Linked DNA regions of Homo sapiens: region 2 is linked to region 1. The links are contacts of gene promoters, found by promoter capture Hi-C in human tissues and cell types (Jung and others, 2019). All regions are on one chromosome and are shown on one strand. The core of a region is centred on a gene start or on the middle of the fragment in contact, and the rest is flanking DNA. Distances in the headings are between cores, read along the strand shown.

Region 1 (7,205 bases), core at 1,289-3,788:
CATTAACCAATCAACAACTATATCAGAAATTCCTTCTAGCCACAATCATAAACTAAAAAATTTCTATATAAATATGCAAAATATGTGCTCCTTCCATCTTTCTTCATTCTTCTCCCATCCAAACGTAGTATCATGTTTGATTTTATTACTATATTTGTTGCCTAGGATAGAAAACCCCAAACACATTCAATAAAGCAAGGTATTTCTATAATAATAATACTAAAAATGCAAAATGCATTGTTATTTACTACAGCCACCTTTCTGTAACAATGCACTGTACATTTTGAAATTGCTAAAAGAGTAAATTTTAAACGCTTTTACCACAAAAAAAAAGTACATGAGATGATGGATTTGTTAGCTAATCATTTGACAATGCAGACATATGTCAAAACATCACACTGTACCCCACAAATATATATTCTAAGCATTTCCTATATAATAACTTTTGTGGATATGTTACTGAGCATGGGGCACTTAGCTTCCTTTTTCTAGTTCACATAATCTTAGTGGCACTAATAGGAGGTGGGTAATGTTTCATAAAGAAACAATTTACTTTGATTACAGTGGATAAAGATTCTGAACTATGAGCAGTCTATCCTCAACAAAGAATGGTAAAGACAAAAACTACCTTCCTTTGTCTATTATCATTTGCCATCTTCTTTTGCAATTATAAAGAGTTTTGTTTTCACTTGGATGCAGAAGTTGAAAGAGAGACTGAGCAGCCATTCTTAGATTTAAATCCTCCCCCACTCCTAGGGATATAATAATTAATATATAACCTTTGGCGTTTGGCGTTGGGGCTTTTGAGTACTTTTCTTTCTTTCTTTTTCTTTTTTCTTATATAGGGTCTCCACTTTTTCTCTTCCTTTCAGGATATTGACAATTTTTATTCAACGCATTCTCCAAACCTCTTTTCCCCAGCTCAGATCTTCTGTACCAGGGCAGTTAATTACGATTACCTTAGACATTCCACATAACCCTTAAGAGAAGCTTACGAAAAGGGGTTTCTTTAAATCAACCACCAAGAGCACACACACCAGTCCCACTCCCCTTCCCCTCCTCTGGGAGCACCCCCCACCCCAGGCCTTCTAGCTCTACATTGCCAAAACTACACAACTCCCACTCCACCATAGCAAAGCTTTCTCAGGAAAGAGCACCACACAGCATCCCCTTTCCTCTCCCTGGAAACAGCGTTAACCAGGCCGGCAGCCTCAAAGCGCGCTTCCTGGATCCTTTGACCAGGATGCGCCAGGGGCCTGGGCTCCCGCTGGACACTGGCGCGCTCAGACTTTGAATAGGGCGTCAGGCGAAGAATGGCCAAACCCAGGGCAATTTCCGGGGTGGGGGGGGGGGGGCGCTTAGACTGCTGGTAAACTGTACCACGTCCACTCACCACCACCCAAGCCCTCCAACCCACAGCCAGGCCCGCCGCACTTAGGACTTGAAGTTTCAATGCTCCCTGCAAGGTGGGGCCATCCGGGCAGCGGCGAAATACAGGTTTTGGGCGGGGGCAGCCACAGCACCCAACCCTCTTGCAAAGCTGTGCCTCCCGAATTAGGGACAAACTCCCTGGGATTTGTTTTCTGCGGGAGAAAAGGCGGAGGGATGTGGGGGGAGTAAGGTGTGGTGGCGATTCGTGGAGGGCAAGGGTAAGGGGCAGTTACAGCCACATCTCTGCCCTGGACAGAGCCGGGTCCAGGGGCCGCGGGCCTGCCCGCCGCTCGGTTGTCAGCATCTCCTGTAGCCGGCGCGCACACTGCGCGCAAACACGCCCCCCAAAATCCCCACAACCTGTCAAACGGGCCCTACAGCTCGGAGCCTCCTGGCAGGAGGGAGAAACTTGTACCCAGACTCGCCAGCAGCCAGAATGCTGCTGTTTGCCTATGAGAACAATTTTTAAAGCGGAAATAATCATGATAATGAAATAAAAGGATCAAAAGCATCTTGACTTTTTCTGAGCCTTTGGGAAAAATAAAATTGTTGTTTTCTACCAGCCCGCGAATATTCCCAGTCGCCCGTGGCGACGCGGGGGTGGGGTCGGCGCTCAAGGCAGAAAGCGCGAGGCAGGTGCCCAGGAGAGCCGCGCAGAAGGGGACTGACTGGGGGGCCCTGGTCCCCGACGCCATTTGAGGGGCAGCGGCGCCCGCCTTACCTGTGGATGCAGTTTCCATGGCAACGGGCGACTGCCGGGCGGGGCCCGAGCCGGCTTCCCGCGACGCCGCTTCCCGGGCCCTGGCGCCCAACCCCGGGCTGGGCTCCCCAGCCTGCGGCGCCGGCGTGGCCCCTTTCGGCGTCACCGCTTCGTTCTCCCCCTCCCCCCGGTGCCTGAGCCACTGGGACCCGGGGCCGGCCAGCGGCAGCAGCTCGTCCTGCGGATCCCCCGGCGCGGCCATGGCTGGCGGTCCCCCGGCGCGGCGACGGCGGCTTGGCTGGGCAGAGGCTCGGTGGCTGCGCGGGCGCTCCCTGCTGCTGTCCCCGGAGGGACTCGGCGCTCAGGGAAGCTGCGGTGTCTCAGCGTCGCCGCCGCCTCTGCTGCAACTCCGCCGAGCCGCTGCCTGCCGCTCTTCCCGCTTCAGCTCCTCCTTCTCCCCCCTCCTCTTCCTCCGGCCCCGCCGCGGCCGCTGCCTGCGCTCCTCCTCCTACTCCACTCGCTGCTGCCGCCGCTGCTTCGCTATTCCCAATCCTGTTATTACGCAGGTGAAAATGGCCTGCTTGGTCCGGGTCCTCCTGGGCACGTCAGCCCCCAACCTGCAAATGGCAGGCCCCGGTTAGGGGATGTGCCAAATCCACTCGAATCTTCCTCTCGTTTGGGGAGGAAAAAAAAGGAAGAACCAGCAAGTAGCAGCAGCCACCAGCAGCGTCGCCTTCCCAACTGAGAAAGTTAAGCCCCGACTGGTGTCCTGGGTCCCGAGGCAAAGAGGGAAAGCTAGAGAACTCAGGGCCACAGTTCTGAGAGTGACCAGTATGAGTTGTGGAGGGGACACAGGTCTGAACGGGGAAGGGGTGGAGATGGGTTCTGATGGCAGATGGAGACCAGGGAAGCTGCAACCCCGCGGTTAAATCCTGCGTTTCCAGAATGGGCCTGAAAATAGTGGAGTAAAGAAATGAGTTATCAGGACAGCCTCCAAAAAAAGCTTAACAGATCTCACCCTGACCAGCCCTGAGGGCAAACAGGGTGTCAATAGGCAAGGACAAAAGCTGTACATTTGCTTTCAGAAACACTGAGCCAAGGCCATCCTAATCATAAGCTGTCTGTGCAGTCCGTTGTATTTCAGAATTTGGACATTCCATGAAGCTTGCATCTTTTTCTTTACAGTTCACTGTGATAAAATGGAAGATAGTCAGCAAATAAACCCAAACTCAGAGGAGGAAAGTGACTTGCCTTATCATATGTTGTGCCCATACGAAGACCCATCTTTTCAAATGTCTTGTGTTTTATTGGTTCCCAAGTTGTTTATATAATAAAATAATGTGCCTTTAAAAACTAAGATTCACCACAACACACAGGGTGAAGGAATAGGTTTTTCTGCTGTTTCTTCTCTAGGAAAGGTGGGCGCAGACGGTACCGCACACACTGTGAGACTGTGGGACTCTTGGCCACCATGCGCATCTTGAGGATTTCATACCTGTCCATTGGTATATTCAAAGGCCAACTTCAGGACCATTCAGGTGCTCCTCAATAATGCTAAAATGAAAAAGCCCAGAGTCTGCCTAATCTTTTGTTCTGCTAGTGCACTAATGTTCAAAAGATGACAATAAATTAGAGAAAAATCATTCACTAAACAATAAATATGGCCTCCTGAAGCCAGATATCCCTGGAAATCTGATGGTCACCAAAATTTTACATTTTTGACATACTCAAAATTATGTCTCATGATGGAAATATTCACTATCTAGATTGTGGTTATAGCTTCACAGGTGCAAACATATGTCAAAACTTATTGTTTACTGTAAATATGAACAATTTAATGTGTTGTCAGTTATAACTCAATAAATCTATAAAAATAATCTCATCCAAAAACAACAAAATAATTGGTTATCATGAATCATAATGATTTTTAAACATCTTTCCATGGGAAAACAAGAGTGTATTTAAAAAACCGTTAAGTTGAAAAGCTTATTCCACTGCTGTATTTCCATGGAGCTTAATCCTGTCTTGTAATTAGAGGGCACTTGTAAGTTTTTTCAAATCTATTACTTAGTATTCCCTAAAGCATCAGAAATACTAGATGGGAATTTCTCATGGTTTTATTACTGATAACAAGACAAGAACATAGACAATTCTAATGATATAACCTTAAAGTGGTTATTGATGAATACTAATATTTGAGAATTGCTATGCAAAGGAGTTACATACAAAATAATATGAAGTATATTCTTTTGTTTCTCTGAGAAACATGAATGAAAGTCATCATTAAAAAACTGGGAGACCTAAGCAAGCCTCTGTGTTTCCTTATGATTAATAGATAGGAAGTTTGGGGATATGATTCTAATTATTTGTCAATTTCTTTCATACTAATCAATACTCTCATTGAGAATGTGTGAAGGAAATAGCCAGTTAAATCTATTTAGAGTGTAGTTGTTAAAGGAAATTGAACATTATTGACAGTTCCATTTTGATAAAGTATTCTATTTTACACTGCTGAAAAGAGATGAGCACAAGATTTCAGTGTTAGCAATTTTCATTACTAACTTTCCTTATTAGACTCCACCTTTGGATGTATAAAAATTATCTATTTGGGGGAAGAAATTTTCAGGTTTATGCTATGACTTGAAATGATTCATGTTTATTAATATTATTTATTTTGCACCGCTCTGAACTGACAAAGCTTGACTAATTTGAAGATTTATGGGCAAAACACACAGTCGGCAATGGGATTCTGGGGCTTACATAGTTGCTCTAAGTTACGAATTACTCTAAAATGCTTTTCAGACACAGAGAAAATAGGATTGTCACTTTTAAAAGGTTCTTAGCAAGAAGAGTTGAGACAAAAGAACTGTCACGTTTTGTTTTCAGCTTTTGTTTTTTGGAAAAGAAGTTTTGTTCATCATTTGAAAAGAAGAAATGAGGAGCATTTATTTAGCACTAGCTTCTTAACTTAGTCCAAACCATATATCATGGGGAAACACGGTGTGGGGACATGCAGGAAGAGCGCCACAAGTAACAAGCTTTAACCAAGATGAAATTCTTTCCAGCCTCAATATTAAAGTTACCTAACATCTCTACAACCCAGGTTCCTCAACTGTAACCTGGAGATTTTTTTTAAAATTTTTGTGGGTGGGTACATAGTAGGTGTATATATTTATGGGGTATATGAGATATTTTAATACAGGCATACAATGAATAATAATCATATCATGGTAAATAAGGTATCCATCACCTCAAGCTTTTATCCTTTCTTTGTGTTACAAACAATCCGATTATAATCTTTTTGTTGTTTTGAAATATAAAATAAATTATTGTTGACTGTAGGTGCCCCATTGTGCCAGTGAATACTAGATCTTATTCACTCGTATCTAACTATATTTTTATATCTACCATTAACTGTCCCACCTCCATGCCCCTCAGGCCCCTGCCAGCCTCCCAGCACTACACTTCTTGGCCTCTGGGAAACCGTTCTACTCTCTATCTCCATGAATTCAACTGTTTTAATTTTAATTTACCACACATAAGTGAGAACATAAGAAGTTTGTCTTTCTGTGCTTGGCTTATATCACTTAACAGATGTCCTCCAGTTCCATCCATGTTGTGCAAATGACAGGATCTCATTCTTTTTTATGACTGAATAATAGTCCATTGTGTATATGTACCACATTTTCTTTATCCATTTGTCTCTTGATGAACACATGGGTTGCTTCCAAATTTTGGCTAGTGTGAATAATATAGTGCTGTGATAAACGTTGGAGTGCAGATATCTCTTCAATATACTTTTGCTTTCTTTTGGGTATATACCCAACAAACAAACAAAAACAAGAAAACATTGAAACACTGGGGAAACTCTCCAGGATATTGGTTTGGGCAAGCATTTCTAGAGTAATGCCCCATAAGCACAGGCAACCAAAGCAAAAATGGACAAATGGGATCACATCAAGTTAAAAATCTTCTGCACAGCAAAAGAAACAACTAAGTGAAGAGACAACCCACAGAATAAGAGAATAAAATTGCAAATTATCCATCTGACAAGGGATTAATAACCATAATATATAAAAAACTGGGATTGCTGGATCATATGGTAGCTCTAGTTTTTTTAATTGGAGTCAGATGACATCTCATTGTAGTTCTGATTTGCATTTCTCTAATGATCAATGATATTGAGCACCTTTTCATATGTCTGTTTGCTATTTATTTGTATGTCTTCTTTTGAGTAATGTCTATTTAGATATTTTGCCCATTTTTAATTGGATCATTATATTTTTTCTTAATAGAGCTATTTGAGCTCGTTATATATTATGGTTATTAATCCCTTGTCAGATGGATAATTTGCAATTTTTTTCTCTTATTCTGTGGGTTGTCTCTTCACTTAGTTGTTTCTTTTGCTGTGCAGAAGATTTTTAACTTGATGTGATCCCATTTGTCCATTTTTGCTTTGGTTGCCTGTGCTTATGGGGTATTACTCTAGAAATCTTTGCCCAGACCAATATCCTTGAGACTTTCCCCAATGTTTCAATGTTTTCTTGTTTTTGTTTGTTTGTTTGTTTGAGACTGAGTCTTGGTCTGTCACCCAGGGTGGAGTGCAGTGGCGTGATCTTGGCTCACTGCAACCTCCACCTCCCAGGCTCAAGCAAATCTCTTACCTCTGCCTCTCGAGTAGCTGGGATTACAGGTGCCTGCCACCATGCCTGGCTAATTTTTGTGTTTTTAGTAGAGACGAGGTTTCACTATGTTGGCCAGGCTGGTCTTGAACTCCTGACCTCAAGTGATCCGCCCATCTCCGCCTCCCAAAGTGCTGGGATTACAGGTATGAGCCACCACATCTATTTGGCCCCCAGTGTTTTCTTTTAATGGTTTCCTAGCTTGAGGTCTTCAGTATAAGTCTTTCATCTATTTTGATTTGATTTTTGTATACAACAAGAGTTAGGGGTCTAGTTTCATTCTTTTGCATATGAATGTAATGTTGTCCCAGAACTATTTTTATTAAAGAGACTGTCCTTTCCCCAGTGTGTGTTCTTGGCACCTTTTTCAAAAATGAATTCACTGCAGATTA
Region 2 (7,205 bases), core at 2,270-4,769, 1.3 Mb before region 1:
TGATCCCTCAGAATGAGCAAAATGCATAAAGGATTGACATGGAAAATCTGTTAAATAAGACATTGAATATTATGCAAGGATTTCTATAACATTTTTACTTGTTGGTACTAAAAGTAATTTCCTTTTCAATACAGAAGCATTTTAATTGTGGAAATTATTTGATTTCCTTTTTGTGGAATTAATTATATACTGTGTATGGAGAGCTTGGGTTTTTCTCATCTTTTTGACATTAAACACATCTCACCAAAACCATACACGAGGATTGTTTTGAAGACTTGCCAACATTCCAAAAACCTCTTCAGCCCCTTCATTGTTCTTAACCAGATTTCCTGAAACTTGACTTTAAAGTTTTTATTATGATTTTTAAAATAGATATCAAATTGATATAAAATATAATTTAAACTATTAGATCAATTAGTAGCCTTTTTATTCAACAGCTATTACAAATAATTTAACCTTATAATCACAGAGGTAAATACAGATTTGATAAAAATCTTTACATTTTGAAATTAATGAGGTAAATACTTAAGACTTGGGAGCAGAGGAACCGTCTCCAGTTCAACAGAACCAAAGGTTGTGATTACGATTAGGAGTAGCATCTGATCTTTTAATTGAATATTATTATTATTATTATTATTATTATTGAGATGGGGTCTTGCTATATTGCCTAGGCTGGTCTTGAGCTCTTGGGCTTAAGTGATCCTCCCACCTTGGCCTCCGTAAGTGCTGGGATTACAGGCATGAGCCACCACTCCTGGCCTCAGTATTATTTTTATTATACCACAATGCCCTCCAAATTAACTGCAAGTTGATGTATTACAAATGCTATTCTTCTAATCAACCTAGTAACGATTTACTAAAAATTTTTTAGTGATTTTAATTTTATATAAATTAGGCAGACTATTTCAAGCAGGTAACAGTGGATTATTCCACTAAACCAGTTCTACCCTTTTTGTTCATATAATGAAAATAAAAAGAGAAGCTTGATTATTTCAGTTCAGAATACATTACCCTCAAATAAATTTAGGCCAGAGATGTAGCTACGCAGCTGTCCAGTGTCATAAAAAAGCAATTCACCGGTGAGTGATCTCTCCATTCAGAAGTGTGCAGTCTTAATGTATGGCTGTAAGAAACTGTTATTTTATGATCTTTTTACTAAAAGCTTGACTGAAAACTAAAATAAATTAATAAATTAGAACAGAGAAGTGATATAGTCTTATTATGCATATAGGATGAACCACTACTAGATTGTTAGTCTCTAATACAGTATTCCTCAAACTTTAACAGACATAGAATTCTCCGGGAGTATTTATTAATAAAATGTAGATCCTAAAGTGATTGTTTGCCTGAGACGGGGCCTGGGAATGTAAACATTAAACTAGTACCCGTGGTTATTCGGATGCAGAAGAGGGAGGACCACCCTTTGAGAAACACTGATTAAGGACTCCAGTTGTTTTTGATGATTCTGTTCTATTTAGAATTAGAGGCACTTTGGAGACAAATTGCATGAGTTCAAATCCTAGCTCAGCTATTTACCAGCTGGTGACCCTGGGTGAAATACTTAACCTCTCTGTGCTATTCTTATCTGTAATATAGTATAGATATTTCATGGTAATTAAAGACATAAAATACACTTTTACTAGAACCTGACATATATTAAGAGCTATTAAAGTGTTAGCTTTGCTCATTGCAACCTCTGCCTCCCAGGTTCAAGTGATTTTCTTGCCTCAGCCTCCCAAGTAGCTGGGACTGCAGGTGCGTGCCACCACACCCAGCTATTTTTAGTAGAGATGGGGTTTCACCATGTTGGCCAGGATGGTCTCAATCTCTTGACCTTGTCATCTGCCTGCCTTGGCCTCCCAAAGTGCTAGGATAACAGGCATGAGCCACCATGCCCAGCCCTGAAAGTGTTAGCTTTTATTAGCATGACTGTTTCTAGGAAATCTCTCCTTTTTGAATACTCATGTTATAATCAGCTCTCCTTTAACAGATAGGAAATGAACCTATATTTGTCCTAAGCTTTAAAGGATGCTGGTGAGGAAATGCTAAAGATGGTACATGTTCAATATAGTGTTAGGGAGATAAATTAAGTTTCAACAAAATTGTTTCTCTTCAGTGAATATATTTAAGATTATATGTATAAGATATATCTTAGGGGCCTGGGCAAGATGGCTGAACAGGAACAATTCCATTGTGCAGCTCCCAGCGAGATCAATGCAGAAGGTGGGTGATTTCTGCATTTCCAACTGAGGTACCTGGCTCATCTCATTGGGACTGGTTAGACAGTGGGTGCAGCCCACGGAGAGCAAGCAGAAGCAGGGTGGGGCGTTGCCTCACCCGTGAAGTGCAAGGGGTCGGGGAACTCCCTCCTCTAGCCAAGTGAATCCATGAGGGACTGTGCCGTGAGAAACGGTGCATTCCGGCCCAGATACTATGCTTTTCCCATGGTCTTTGCAACCTGCAGACCAGGAGATTCCCTCAGGTGCCTACACCACGAGGGCCCTAGGTTTCAAGCACAAAACTGGGCAGCCATTTGGGCAGACACCAAGCTAGCTGCAGGAGTTTTTTTTCATACTTCAGTGGCACTTGGAATGCCAGCAAGACAGAACCATTTGCTCCCCTCGAAACAGGGCTGAAGCCAGGGAGCCAAGTGGTCTACCTCAGCGGATTCCACTGCCACGGAACCCAGCAAGGTAAAGATCCACTGGCTTCAGATTCTCACTGCCAGCACAGCAGTCTGAAGTCGACCTGGGATGCTCAAGCTTGGTCGGGGGAGGGGCGTCCGCCATTACTGAGGCTTGAGTAGGCGGTTTTCCCCTCAGTGTAAACAAAGCCGCCAGGAAGTTGGAACTGTGTGGAACCCACCATGTCTCAGCAAAGCCGCTGTAGCCAGACTGCCTCTGTAGATTCCTCTTCTCTGGGCAGGGCATCTCTGAAAGAAAGGCAGCAGCCCCAGTCAGGAGCTTATAGATAAAACTCCCATCTCCCTGGGACAGAGCACCTGTGGGAAGGGGCGGCTGTGGGTGCAGCTTCAGCAGACAGATGTTCCTGCCTGCCAGCTCTGAAGAGAGCAGCAAATCTCCCAGCATAGCGCTCAAGCTTTGCTAAGGGACAGACTGCCTCCTCAAGGGGGTCGCTGACCCCCATGCCTCCTGACTGGGAGACACCTCCTAGCAGGGGTTGACAGACACCTCATACAGGAGATCTATGACTGGTATCTGGTGGGTGCCCCTCTGGGACAAAGCTTCCAGAGGAAGGAACAGGCAGCAATCTTTGCTGTTTGGCAGACTCTGCTGGTAATACCCAAGCAAACAGGGTCTAGAGTGGACCTCTAGCAAACTCCAGCAGACCTGCAGCAGAGGGGCGTGAATGGTAGAAGGAAAACTAACAGAAAGGAATAGCATCAACATCAACATAAAAGGACACCCACGCAGAAACCCCATCTGAAGGTCACTAACATCAAAGACCAAAGGTAGATAAATCCACAAAGATGAGGAAAAACCAGTGCAAAAAGCCTGAAAATTCCCAAAACCAGAACACCTCTTCTTCAAAGGATCACAACTCCTCGCCAGCAAGGGAACAAAACTGGATGGAGAATGAATTTGATGAATTGACAGAAGTAGGCTTCAAAAGGTGGGTAATAACAAACTCCTCCGAGCTAAAGGAGCATGTTCTAACCCTTTCTATTCCTTCAAATTAGCTCTGGAAAGGACTACAGAAAGCTGGACTGTAATTTCCCTTTGCTTACTCAGGTCATCTAAACCTAAATAGTCTGAGTATATTGCCTTAATCAGAATCACATTTTCCCCTCTTTAATTCCTTCCCCCATAATAAAGGAAGCTAAGAACCTTGAAAAAAGGTTAGACAAATTACTAACTAGAATCACCAGTTTAGAGAAGAACATAAATGACCTGATGGAGCTGAAAAACACAGCTCCAGAACTTTGTGAAGCATACTCAAGTATCAATAGCCAGATTGATCAAGCGGAAGAAAGGATATCAGAGATTGAAGATCAACTTAAAGAAATAAAGCGTGAAGACAAGAATAGAGAAAAAAGAATGAAAAGGAATGAACAGTGTCTCCAAGAAATATGGGGCTATGTGAAAAGACCAAACCTACATCTGATTGGTGTACCTGAAAGTGACGGGGAGAATGGAACCAAGTTGGAAAACACTCTTCAGAATATTATCCAGAAGAACTTCCCCAACCTAGCAAGACAGGCCAACATTGAAATTCAGGAAATATAGAGCATACCACAAAGATATTCCTTGAGAAGAGCAACCTCAAGACACATAATCGTCAGATTCAACAAGGTTGAAATGAAGGAAAAAATGTTAAGGGCAGCCAGAGAGAAAGGTTGGGTTACCCACAAAAGGAAGCCCATAAGACTAACAGTGGCTCTCTCTGCGGAAACCCTACAAGCCAGAAGAGAATGGGGGGCCAATATTCAGCAGTCTTAAATAAAAGAATTTTCAACCCAGAATTTTATATACAGCCAAACTAAGCTTCATAAGTGAAGGAGAAATAAAATCCTTTAGGGACAAGCCAATGCTGAAAGATTTTGTCACCACCAGGCTTGCCTTACAAGAACTCCTGAAGGAAGCACTAGACATGGCAAGGAAAAACTTGCACCAGCCACTGCAAAAACATAGCAAATTGTAAAGACCATTGACACTATGAAGAAACTGCGTCAACTAATGGGCAAAATAACCAGCTAGCATCCTAATGACAGGATCAAATTCACACATAACAATATTAACCTTAAATGTACATGGGTTAAATGCCCCAATTAAAAGAAATAGACTAGCAAATAGGATAATGAGTCAAGACCCATCGGTGTGCTGTATTCAGGAGACCCATCTCACATGCAAAGGCACAGATAGGCTCAAAATAAAGGGATGGAGGAATGTTTACCATGCAAATGGAAAGCAAAAAAAGCATGGGATGCAATCCTAGTCTCTGATAAAACAGACTAAACCAACAAAGATAAAAAAAGACAAAGAAGGTTATTACGTAATGGTAAAGGGATCAATGCGACAAGAAGAGCTAACTATCCTAAATATATATGCACCCAATACAGGAGCGTCCAGATTCATAAAACAAGTTCTTAGAGACCTACAAAGAGACTTAGACTCCCACACAATAATAGTGGGAGACTTTAACTCCCCACTGTCAATATTAGACAGAACAATGAGACAGAAAATTAACAAGGATAATCAGGACTTGAACTCAGCTGTGGACCAAGCAGGCCTAATAGACATCTACAGAACTCTCCACCCCAAATCAACAGAGTATACATTCTTCTTAGCACCACATCACACTTATTCTAAAATTGACCATATAATTGGAAGTAAAACACTCCTCAGCAAATGCAAAAGAACAGAAATCATAATAAACAGTCTCTCAGACCACAGTGCAATCAAACTAGAACTCAGGATTAACAAACTCACTCAAAACGGCACAACTACATGGAAACTGAACAACCTGCTCCTGAGTGACTACTCGGTAAATAATGAAATTAAGACAGACATAAATAAGTGCTTTGAAACCAATGAGAACAAAGACACAACGTACCAGAATTTCTGGGACACATTTAAAGCAGTGTGTAGAGGGAAATTTCTAACACTAAATGCCCGCAGGAGAAAGCAGGAAAGATCTAAAATTGGCACCCTAACATCTCAATTAAAAGAACTAGAGAAGCAAGAGCAAACAAATTCAAAAGCTAGCGGAAGACAAGAAATAACTAAGATCAGAGCAGAACTGAAGGAGATAGAGACACACAAAACCCTTAAAAAAATCAATGAATGCAGGAGCTGGTTTTCTGAAAAGATCAACAAAATGGATAGACCACTAGCTAGACTAATAAAGAAGAAAAGAGAGAAGAATCTAATAGACATAATAAAAAATGATAAAGGGGACATCACCACTGATTTCACAAAAATACAAACCACCATCAGAGAATACTATAAACACCTCTACACAAATTAACTACAAAATCTAGAAGAAATGGATAAATTCCTGGACACATACACCCTCCCAAGACTAAACCAGGAAGAGGTCGAATCCCTGAATAGATCAATAACAAGTTCTGAAATTGAGGCAGTAATTAATAGCCTACCAACCAAAAAAAGCCCAGGACCAGACAAATTCACAGGCGAATTCTACCAGAGGTACAAAGAGGAGCTGCTGCTATTCCTTCTGAAACTATTCCAAAGAATAGAAAAAGAGAGACTGCTCCCTTACTCATTTTATGAAGCCAGCATCATCCTGATACGAAAACCTGGCAGAGACACAACAAAAAAAAGAAAATTTCAGGCCAGTATCCGTGATGATCATCAGTGTAAAAATCCTCAATAAAATACTGGCAAACCGAATCCAGCAGCACATGAAAAAGCTTATCTACCTCAATCAAGTCAGCTTCATCCCTGGGGTGCAAGGCTGGTTCAACATATGCAAATCAGTAAACATGATCCATCACATAAACAGAACCAATAACAAAAACCATGTGATTATCTCAAAAGATGCAGAAAAGGCCTTCAGTAAAATTCAACGCCCCTTCATGCTAGAAACTCTCAATAAACTATCTATTGATGAAACATATCTCAAAATAGTAAGGGCTATTTATGACAAACCCACAGCCAATATCATACTGTATGGGCAAAAGCTGGAAGCATTCCCTTTGTAAACCAGCACAAGACAAGGATGCCCTCTCTCACCACTCCGATTCAACACACTACTGGAAGTTCTGGCCAGGGCAATCAGGCAAGAGAGAGAAATAAAGCATATTCAAATAGGAAGGGAGGAAGTCAAATTGTCTCTGTTTGCAGATGACAAGATTGTATATTTAGAAAACTCCATCATCTCAGCCCAAAATCTCCTTAAGCTGATAAGCAACTTCAGCAAAGTCTCAGGGTACAAAATCAATGTGCAAAAATCACAAGCATTCCTATATGCCAATAATAGCCAAATCGTGAGTGAACTCCCATTCACAACTGCTATAAAGAGAATAAGATACTTAGGAATACAACTTACAAGAGGTTTGAAGGACTTTTTCAAGGAGAACTACAAACCACTGCTCAAGGAAATAAGGACACAAACAAATGGCAAAACATTCCATGCTTATGGATAGGAAGAATCAATATTGTGAAAAAGACCATACTGCCCAAAGTAATTTATAGATTCAGTGCTATCCCCATCAAGCTACC

What was found. The method cuts DNA at HindIII sites, captures the fragments that hold promoters and counts their contacts. A contact is called where the count stands out against the background at its distance.
Region 2: a fragment that was not itself captured here is called in contact with the fragment with the promoter of RTN1 in region 1 in 1 of the 25 tissues and cell types used here (small bowel).

What each region holds. Positions count from the first base shown.
Region 1 is chr14:59,868,238-59,875,442 of GRCh38, forward strand. RTN1 (reticulon 1) reads right to left here and starts at 2,539. Exons shown (of 9, transcript NM_021136.3): 1 at 2,153-2,539. The coding sequence starts at 2,393. RefSeq lists a silencer at 2,448-2,547. The HindIII fragment of the contact is 4,177 bases long and covers 1-3,705 here.
Region 2 is chr14:58,523,104-58,530,308 of GRCh38, forward strand. All of the region lies in intron 29 of KIAA0586, which reads left to right. Among named protein-coding and RNA genes, the nearest start is that of KIAA0586, 99 kb to the left of the region's middle. The HindIII fragment of the contact is 3,859 bases long and covers 1,591-5,449 here.